3 separate regions of the Homo sapiens genome follow, and regions 2 and 3 are each linked to region 1. The links are contacts of gene promoters, found by promoter capture Hi-C in blood cells and fetal thymus (Javierre and others, 2016). All regions are on one chromosome and are shown on one strand. Each heading gives the region's core, a stretch centred on a gene start or on the middle of the fragment in contact. The rest is flanking DNA. Distances are from core to core; before and after follow the strand shown. Region 1 holds the start of RBL2 (RB transcriptional corepressor like 2). Region 2 overlaps CHD9 (chromodomain helicase DNA binding protein 9). Region 3 overlaps CHD9 (chromodomain helicase DNA binding protein 9).

The links. The method cuts DNA at HindIII sites, captures the fragments that hold promoters and counts their contacts. A CHiCAGO score of 5 or more calls a contact.
Region 2: a fragment that was not itself captured here is called in contact with the fragment with the promoter of RBL2 in region 1 in 6 of 17 cell types (neutrophils, total CD4 T cells, non-activated CD4 T cells and 3 more); the score reaches 14.5 in neutrophils.
Region 3: a contact is called between a fragment that was not itself captured here and the fragment with the promoter of RBL2 in region 1, in 2 of 17 cell types (neutrophils and monocytes). The highest score is 9.3, in neutrophils.

The regions. Positions count from the first base shown.
Region 1 is chr16:53,432,555-53,436,050 of GRCh38, reverse strand. RBL2 (RB transcriptional corepressor like 2) reads right to left here and starts at 1,580. Exons shown (of 22, transcript NM_005611.4): 1 at 1,255-1,580. The coding sequence starts at 1,494. RefSeq lists an enhancer at 586-695 and a silencer at 1,306-1,525. The HindIII fragment of the contact is 5,814 bases long and covers 1-3,496 here.
Region 2 is chr16:53,285,880-53,289,375 of GRCh38, reverse strand. It overlaps CHD9 (chromodomain helicase DNA binding protein 9), which reads right to left. Exons shown (of 39, transcript NM_001308319.2): 26 at 3,033-3,150; 27 at 1,362-1,419. Among named protein-coding and RNA genes, the nearest start is that of RBL2, 150 kb to the left of the region's middle. The HindIII fragment of the contact is 5,858 bases long and covers 1-3,496 here.
Region 3 is chr16:53,302,115-53,305,610 of GRCh38, reverse strand. CHD9 (chromodomain helicase DNA binding protein 9) reads right to left here. Exons shown (of 39, transcript NM_001308319.2): 31 at 986-1,891. Among named protein-coding and RNA genes, the nearest start is that of RBL2, 130 kb to the left of the region's middle. The HindIII fragment of the contact is 338 bases long and covers 1,760-2,097 here.

The sequences.
Region 1 (3,496 bases), core at 331-2,830:
TAAACTTGAAAACACTGTCCATATGGGTGCTTTATGTGCCAGAAACTACATTATTGCCTTATTTAATCTTCAGAACAGCTCTGTGAGGTAAACACAAATATCTCCAGTTTAGAGATCACCATACTGAACTTTTCCAGCGGTTTCAGGTCTGTCGGGTTCTAAAGCCACCATACACTATCTTCTGCAGACCTAACAATTCAAAGAGGGAACTAGTAATTGAATTAAAATTCTATTAATGCAAATACAAATTAAAAATAACCTCACTCATCAGTACACATAGCCAAAAACATCATATTTAAATAATACCTTGGTTAGGCTTTGCATCCTGGACCTATTTGCCCGACTCTTTCTACAAATTAATTATAAAACGACTTGAGAAATCAAATGGCCTCAGGTTTAAATGCCACACACACAGTCAAACAGCTGATAAACAATCCGTACTTCCGTGTCACTTCCCATTGGCCCATGAAGGGGAGGTGCATACAAAGCTGACACTCACTGGCTAGAATGGCCATTTTTCTCATCTGCAAGCCCTGTCCGAAGGCTGCGACCTAACACACCCGGATCGCAACAACAACAGGAGTCCTGTGCAATGCCCGGGGTGACCAAAAAGCCCTCGAGGTAGCCACAGTCCTGATCCTAGTGACAAATGGGGGCATGTGTCTACATCCGGGTCGGCGGAGGGCTCATTTCATCTGGCCTGGGGGGAAATGAGTATTAATTTGTTTACACAGACGTAAACACAGCCCAAAACGCATCAGCACGTTGACTCAAACGCCCGCAACGCCAGGGCAAAGGCAATTTGGTTAACAGGGGGAAGCGAACAGACGGAGACGCCTGGAGACCCAGGTGCCACAACCCGGTTAATCGCGGTGCAAATAAGGGCAAGTCCCCTCCCCTTGTCCGTGTGGTCTTGACAACGACACTAGTTCATTCTACTAACAAGGCGGGCGGGGGGTCAGATGGGCCACACACACCCATTTTCCTCAACGGGACCCCAGCGCGATCTCAGCCTTGCTGTGCTACTTTAGGGCAAGACGCGTTCCCCATTCGGAAGCCGCAGGAAAGCGCGGCGAGAGCGGGTTAGCCCTCGGAGCGGCTAAGAGCCTCGGAATAGCGCAGAGGAAGTCCCCACCCCTCTCGGGGCTGGGAGCCCGCAACCCGCCCGAGAGTCTCTCGAGGCGCGCGACGCGGCTCGGAAGGCACCGGTTCACGCCAACTAGGCCGGAAGCGCCCCTCCGCCCGCGAGCGCACCTCCAGCGTGTAGCTTTCGCTCATGCTGCGGTAGCTGTCCCAGGCCTCGGCCCGCGCCGCCTCGTCCATGTTGAGGCGGCTGCACAGCTCGTCGAACCGCTGCTGGATCTGAGGGGTGGGCGACTCGGCAGGCGGCGCGGCGTCTTCCGCCTCGCCGTCGTCCTCCTCCTCCTCATCCGAGGCTGCCGCCGCCGGAGGGGGAGGCGGGGGCGGTGGCGACTGGTCACCTCCCGACGGCATAGCGCACCCCTGGGCGGCCGGACCTCAGGTGAGGTGAGGGCCCGGGCCCGCAGCCATTCAAACGGCGAAGCGCCCGCCCGTCCGCCGCCCGCACCGCGCCTGCGCCGCCGCAAACGACGCTGACCGCCTGCAGGCACCCGTAGTCTTGAGCACGGGCTGCTGGGAAACGTAGTCCAGGCCGGCGGTTCAAGGGGGCCAAAAATCATGTTTAAAAAAATTAGCTCCCCTAGTTTCACCAGGGGTGAAATAAAAGCACCTTCCCCGCATTTTAAACACGTACCTCCCCACCGTGAGAACATTCAACAGGGCTGTACTGACGAGAAAATGTCCAAAAGACACTGACGTGTGAAGGTTTCGTATCCAGGCTGTTCCCAGAAGTAAAACTTCCTCATCGCCTGGATATCCTTATCTAAAAAATAGGGATAATAGCAAGGGCCTGTCTCTGTACGTTCACGAAACTGCCTTTGCAAAAATCCTAACAGTGAGAAAGTTATGACAGTGCAAGGGATCTGACCTAAATGACTCCACGCTTCTCACTTCCGAGCTGCCCTTGTTCATTCCTGGGCGAAGACCTAACTAACTACAGGAGGAATTTAATTTCTAATTTCACTTTGAAACAAAGATTGTAACAGTCCTTTCCAAAAACAAACCCCATTCTTGCCTGGGGATCAGTCTGCCTTTGTAGAACTAACAAATTAGCCACAAGATTAGAAATTATGATTTAGGAGGCTTGCAGCCAGAGGCTATAAGATTCCTGACCTCCCCAATTGCTCTCAGGGATAACATCACTATTGTAAAACCTAAGATTGGTGCTGGAGATACTTTTCAGACCGCGCATTCCGATGCACTAGCTGGCGCCACTCAGACCATAATCTGGCTCAACAAGTTCTGCAATTCCACTCAGTAACAGAAGACAGCAAGAGCCCACTTCAACCCCCTGTGATTTCACCTCCCACCTGACAAATTAGCATTCGCCAATCCCTGGCCCCCTACCCGCCAAGTCATTCTTTAAAAACCCCAGTCTCCGAATTTTCTGGTAGGCTGATTTGAATAACCAAACTCCTGTCTGCCGTTCAGCTGGCTCTGCGTGAATTAAACTTTTTTTTTTTTTTTGAGACAGAGTCTGGCTCTGTTGCCCAGGCTGGAGTGTAGTGGCACGATCTCGGCTCACTGCAACCTCCGCCTCCTGGGTTCAAGCGATTCTCCTGCCTCAGCCTCCTGAGTATCTGGGATTACAGGTGTGCGCCACCGCACCCAGCTAATTTTTGTATTTTCAGTACAGGCAGGGTTTCACCATGTTGGCCAGGCTGGTCTCGAACTCCTGACCTCAAGTGATCCACCCACCTCGGCCTCCCAAAGTTCTGGGATTACAGGCGTGAGCCACCGTGCCCAGCCAATTCATTTTATTTCCAATTCTCCTTTCTTTATTTTAATTTTTTAAATTGCCAATCCTTGATTTATAAATGGGCTTGATATAAAACATTTTCCAGATTGAGGAGCAATCTGAGGATTGAGCAATTTGAGGATTCAGAAGGCATTACTGTTTTGCTATTTTTGTTTTGCTTGGTGGGATATGTAAACTGACAGAGGGAAAAGTGCTGGGACAAAAGTAGGGGCTTATGGAAGGTATAATGACAGGCGGGAGGACAGGAAATGGAACTCTGAAGATAGGAGAAAATCAGGTAGACAGGTAACAGGATATTTCAGGAACAATTTTGAGACAATGGAACCCTCTTAAGAAAACCTTAGTAAAATTCACAGTAATCAGCAATGCTTTTGGAGTTGGCTAAGTGATGAGTCTCAAGGTGACTATGGGGCAAGAACAGAAGTTGAACACAAATGGTTTAGAAGTATCTTAAGTATATAGGCTGGACGTTGTGGATCACACCTGTAAATCCAGCACTTTGGGAGGTCAAGGTGGGAGGACTGCTTGAGTACAGGAGTTCGAGACCAGCCTGGGCGACATAGTGAAACCCTGTCTCTACAAAAAATAGAAAAATTA
Region 2 (3,496 bases), core at 642-3,141, 150 kb after region 1:
ATTATATTGCTCAGGTTGGTCTTGAACTCCTGGGCTCAAGTGATCCTCCCACCTTACCCTCCAAAGTGCTGGGATTACAGGCGTGAGCCACACTGCCCTCAGCCTTTTCCCACTTTTAAAGTTAAATATCATCTTTTTCACATCTTTCTAGTATTTTAAAATCATATCTTGTCTTTTGTTCCTGGTTCTTTCTTTAATGTCTTTAATCATTTACAAATTTACTTTAAAAAATTTCAATAGGAATTTTTTTATTTCAGTAGATACATCAGAAATTCTCAGGGGTCTAATCTTACTCTTTATTGCATGCTAACATTCACTCATGGTAAATGGTTTCTCATATATTTTTAAACTTGGGGTTTTTACTTCATTTTATGCAGGGCTTCATCTTCGGGACTCGTGCATAGTCAGGGTTGAACTGTTTCTTACAGGTGCTTTTTGTTTTTACCAGGCACCCTAGATATATTACCAGTAAAGGACTGATCCTTTTTTATATTACACTGAGGGCTCTTGGACCACACAGATAAAGTAAAAGACAAATCACGAACTCAAGAGAAGGTGGGTCTATGGTTACAAATTCTCAAGGGAAACAATAATTTTCTTACCCAAAGTCCGTGATGAGATAAATTTCCTTGCTATTTCTCCGTGCTGTTTGTCAGTAATTACTGGCCTTTGAGACTCTTGACCTCATATAGGATTTTGGTTTTCATTGCCCACACACTGGAGCAAGCCTTGTCTCATGCCCTCATCAAGGCATCAAGCCCCTTAGCTACCAAGTCCAGCAAATCCTACCTGACAGCTTTAGCGTCATTTAGCCTTTTACCACACTCTCATAAATATTAGACATTCCTCATCTCTTTTAAAATCCTTTTCCCCACTCTACAGATTATTTTCTGTACTTTCATCCAACTCTTCTTCCTTTTGACATTCTACAAACAGAGCACTGAGAACTATGCTTTGGCAACTCAGAATTCCTTGATGCTCTACCCTCTATCTCAAACCTCTTCATGTAGGTATAGTTTCTAACTCTTGCAGTATATCTTTAGTATCTAGTTCTCACTCTCCTTTGGGATTTTGCCCTTGGACACTGTGTTTCTTAGCTCTAAGAAGTAGAGCAGGTGGGCAAGCCCCATTGCATCCACATGTCCAAGCCAGCCCCCATCTTGTCTAAAAGGGGAGATCAGGTGAATTCTGAGTGATTATTTGAGATGTTTGTCAACCCAAGTTGATCACTTACTTAGCTAATCTGAGGAACAGAAGAATTATGTATAATGAAAACAAAATATAATGCAAAAGAAAAAGCAAACACAAGAAACCAAAGAATACCTAAAATTGAGGATTTAAAAATATGATCCAATGCATACCTCTATATCATCTTTAAAGATGGCTGGGGCAGGTTTGTATTCTGGATCTTCCACATCCCTGTTAAAATACAAACAAATGCTATAATTACTGTAATGGACTTAAGATTTCACTTGATAGGACAAAGTCTTGTTGGAGGGTTTTAGTTTGTTTTAAAAGTCAGACTGACGTCTCTTCTCTAGCCAGAAGAGCCCAAGACACAGCAGGAAGGCTGTTATAAAGCAAATAGGGAGAAAGCTAGTTCTAATGTACCCTTACTCACAAGTTCACTTTTATTTTTATTTTTTTTGAGACGGAGTTTCACTCTTGTCGCCCAGGCCGGAGTGCGGTGGCACAATCTCAGCTCACTGCAACCTCCACCTCCCGGGTTCAAGAGATTCTCCTGCCTCAGCCTCCCGAGTAGCTGGGACTACAGGTACATGCCACCACACCTGGCTAATTCTGTATCTTTAGTAGAGACGGGGTTTCACCATGTTGGCCAGGCTGGTCTCGAACTCCTGACCTCAAATGATCCACCTGCCTTGGCCTCCCAAAGTGCTGGGATTACAGGCGTGAGCAAGTGCATCCAGCCGCGAGTTCGCTTTTAAATGCATTATTATTAACCACAAAGTGTTCCTTACTTTTCTCTTTGGGTAAGAAAAGACAGATTACATAAGGCCTTAAAACAGGTACAGTTGGCCTTTCGTTATGTGTGGGTTTCATATCTATAAATTCAACCAATTTCAGTTTGAAAATATGCGAAAAAAGCTGGTCCATGATGGCTCACACCTATAATCTCCGCACTTTGGGAAGCCAAGGCTAAGGTGGAAGATCACTTGGGCCCAGGAGTTCAAGACCAGCATGTGCAACACAGGGAGACCTCATCTCTACAAAAAATAAAATACAAGAAAATTAGCTGGGCATGGTGGCATGTGCCTGTGGTCCCAGATACTCAGGAGACTAAGTGGGAGGATCACTAGAGCCTGGGAGGTCAAGGCTGCAGTAAGACATGATTGTGCCATTGCATTCCAGCCTAGATGACAGAGCAAGACCCTGTCTCAAGAAAATATCTGGAAAAAAATGGCATCTGTACTGAACATGTACAGACTTTTTTTTTTGTCATTACTCCCTTAACAATTCAGTATAGCAACTATTTACATAGCATACAGCATATATATTGTACTATGAATTATAAATAATCTAAAGATAGTTTAAAGCATACGGGAGAATGTGCATAGGTTAAATGCAAATCCTATGCAATTTTATATATAGGACTAGAGCATCCTTGGATTTTGGTATCTGCAGGGTGTCCTGAATACCAAAATCCCCCATGGATATTGAGGGATGACTATGTAATAAATGTCATCATATGTCTCATCAACTATAACATTCTTGCCTTTTTCTCCCCCTATGCCCCTAGAAGTTTATGAACTCAGTGGCCATGATATAGCTGTTAAAATGAAAGAAATGAAAAACTCATCAAAAGAATGGGTGTGGGGCAGGTCCAACCTCTTCCTCGATCACATTCTGTTGGATAAGTGCTAACCTATTAGGGTATCTTTAGCTCTTTCAGATTGTAAACTCCAATTCCCTTACTGCTACCTCATTTAAAGATAAATAGTGTGACATAGAATATGCTGATATTGAATAGAAGAGAGATATATAGAAAATTCATGACTCTGAAACACACATACCCATCCATATAATCATTCGCTCTCTGTTCAGCAGCAACTGCTTTCTCATCAGGTTTTCCCACTCTTTCCAAGAAGCATAATGCTGGGTCTGCTCGAATAGTGTTATATTTTTCATATCCTGAAAACATCACCAATTACAAAAGTAAAAAAGATAAAAAGAAGAAAGGTGTATACATATAAGCATTCCTCGTATTTACAGTGGATGATATTTCTGGACTAAAGGGATAATACATTAAAATGATATAGGTTAAGTATGTTTTCTAGAAATTATCACAAACATTAAATGATCTGGTAATAGATATCTACTAAAGTAAAATTTCAGTTACATTTATCAGTTAATATGAGAAATAGGATAAACTGATCATACCCACACACAAACACACAAACATATCTCACATGAGAACTCTTCCTGAGAGAGGAAGTTGTCTTAGATTTACATCCAGGAAGGGTAGGTTACACATGCC
Region 3 (3,496 bases), core at 679-3,178, 130 kb after region 1:
AGCTTAAGACTCTTGGTGACTGCTATATAATATTATCTTTTACTTGTTCACTAATCAACTTGTTCCTGGGAAAAATATTCAATTTAAGACAATCACAAATAAACTACTGTGTAAAATTTCTAATTCAATTGCCTGATTAATCTACTGTGTAATGCCTTGAATATTAAACAGGGAATTTGTATCAGTAACTAGTTTTCTTCCCAATAGTGCTTTCCTAAGAACATTTGTATATATAAAACTTAAGCAAACAGGCCAGGTGTGGTGGCTTATGCCTGTAATCCCAGCACTTTGGGAGGCTAAGGCGGGCGGATCACCTAAGGTCAGGAGTTCGAGACCAGCCTGGCCAACATGGTGAAACCCTGTCTCTACAAAAATACAAAAATTAGCTGGACATGGTGGTGGGTGCCTGTAATCCTAGCTACTCAGGAGGCTGAGGCAGGAGAATCGCTTGAACCTGGGAGACAGAGGTTGCAGTGAGCTGAGATCGTGCCATTGCACTCCAGCCTGGGCGACAGAGCGAGACTCCGTTTCAAAAAAACACTGTAAGCAAACAATTTTAAACATCCTTAAGTTACCTGAAACGAGTTCTTTTCATTTTCACTTGAAAAGTTATATTAGGCCAGGCCTGGTGGCTCATGCCTGTAATCTCAGCACTTTGGGAGGCTGAGGCGGGTAGATCACCTGAGGTCGGGAGTTTGAGACCAGCCTGACCAACATGGAGAAACCCCGTCTCTACTAAAAATACAAAATTAGCCAGGCATGGTGGCACATGCCTGTAATCCCAGCTACTTGGGAGGCTGAGGCAGGAGAGTCGCTTGAACCCAGGAGGTGGAGGTTGAAGTGAGCTGAGATTGCGCCATTGCACTCCAGCCTGGGCAACAAGAGCAAAACTCCATCTCAAAAAAAAAAAAAAAAAAGAAAAGAAAAGAAAAGAAAAGAAAAGAAAAGTTATGTTAAAAAAGTAGAATTATTTTATGCATAGTACCTCGTTTTTGGGCTTCTTCTTCATCACTGTCACTTTCTTCTGATGAAGATGAAGAGGAGGAGGAGGAGGAAGAGGTGGAGGAAGAGGATGAAGAAGATGCTGAAGAACAAGATGAAGATGAAGAAGAACTAGAGCCTGATCGAGAGTGGGAGCAAGAAGAGGATGATGAGGAAGAAGATGATCTGGAAGAACAAGATGATCTCTCAGAATCTGAGTCAGAATCAGAACTAGATTCTGATCCCCTTTTGTGGACTCTTGGTTTCTTAGAAGCTGGGTTTGGAGTTAGGGGTTCTGTTCTGGCTGCAACCATGCGTCTGTCTGTTTCACATTTTCCACCAGATTTCTGGTCTCCAGTAGCCTGTGGTAAAACACCATTCTTTGGACTTACAGGCTCAGATTTTATTAGTGTCCTGGTTTCCACAGAAGACATAGATTCTTCTTCAGAAGACTGAGGCTCCTCTTTAAGGTTTTCACTTTTAACTTTCATCTCCTCTAGAATAATACCTTTAGCATCTAGGAGCCTAGGTAGAGAGGTAAGAGGAGAAGCAGAAAGTGCTACTTGATATTGCTGTAGAAGTGGGGTAGAAGTCCTTGAATGAGCCATCTTACTTTGACTGTAGTTCCTCTGAGCTGCCATAAATGAGAGTTCAGGATCACGAAGAATGTGATAGTCTGTTCGGCTCACCCCGTGTTTGGCAGCACCAATAAGCAAATCCCTATCATGAGGGCCACATTCCCACCAGACTGGTAAATCTGGATTTGGATGGCAAAGCTTCAAGCGTTCAAACAACTGTGGATGTCGAAGGGCCTGTTCCCGTACTTTCCTTAGAAGTTCAATGCGATACAAAGTCCTAGAAGCACGTTCTTCTGTGATGGGCTGGATAAAAATATTTGGATCCACCAATTCTACATATTGAAACAAGGACAAAAATATTAATCTCAAAAATCCTTTATTTATAAATAAATCATTATAAATACATCTTTATATATTTATAACAATACCATTTCTAAAATGTGCCTCCATGCAATATCACTGTATAGTTTCCAGAATTTCTTTTCAGTGAGGAGAAATTCAGTGAGGATTTTGAAATTTTGAAATTTCAGTAAAAGCTTTAAAAAGGAGAAAGTTTTAAAAGTAAGTACTAAAAATCATGTAACATAAAATACTGGATGTTAATGTAAAACATAAGATTATTTTGGAAGTACATTAATAGAACTGGGAATTTTAAGAAATTCCCTATGAGCGATGCATTTAATAACATTTGTCTTAATAACACAAACACTTGCTCAAACTCACTTATAAATTAGAAGTGTTCAGGGTTGTCCAATCTTTTGGCTTCCCTGGGCTGCATTGTAAGAGGAATTGTATTGGGCCACATATAAAATACACTAACACTAACGATAGCTGATGAGCTTAAAAAAATTGCAAAAAAAAAAAAAAAACTCATAATATTTTAAGAAAGTTTACGAATTTGTGATGGGCCGCATTCAAAGCTGTCCTGGGCCACAGGTTGGACAAGCTTGTGTTAAGTGATACTCCATAAACAAATGTAAGCTGGCATATCTCAAACTGCAAAAGGTAAGAGGACATTGGAGTGAACTCACAGGGGCAACAAGGGCTTTCTCAAATTTCTAGGGAAACACAGCCACATCTTTCAAACACTGCACAAATTACTAGCTTGAGATAGTTCAGTTTCAACATGAACTCATGCTACCTCATACCTCTGATAAGGTTATGCCTTTGCAAAAGTGGGTTACTGACACTTGGGAAGTACTCAAGAAACATGGGCTTGCTGAAACAATGCAGGGACCAACATAAGCAGCTCCTAATGCCAAATATGGAACAATCTGAGCAATAAATAAAGACAATATTGGATTGTAACCTATAGAATAAATACCCATGAATCCATACTGATATGAATAAATAACTGATTAAATAGATGAGAGAGAATGAAACATCCTTTCTTACAGCAGAATTCCACAGAAAAAACTGTTGTAGACAAGATTTAGTATCTGGCAGATACTAAAAATCAATGGGTGAAAGTTTGAGAAGAAACAAGATTTGTGAAGCTTAAGATATTTGTTAATTACAGTAATTTTACACTGGCCAAATGCAGCATAAACTACCTTAACCACACAATTAAAGTCAACATCATCAGTAATAAGACATACTGACATCTCCAATCCCTTGATATTACATTCTGAGAACACATCATTTCTGTGGCACTCTTGCCAAAAATGCATGACCTCAATCCAGTCATGTAACAACATAAGACAAGCTCAAATTGAGGGATACATGGCTAAATAACTGATCAACACTTTTCAAAGGTATCAAAGTCATTAAAGATAAGGAACAGCTGAGAACCTGTTACGGATTGCAGGAAGCTAACGAGAAAGAAAAACCAAATACATTGTAGGATCTTGGAACAAAAAGGGACATTAGTTGAAAAACTGGTAAAATTAAAATAGGTATTTAGTTTAGTTAATGGCTTTAATGTTAATTTCTTGTTT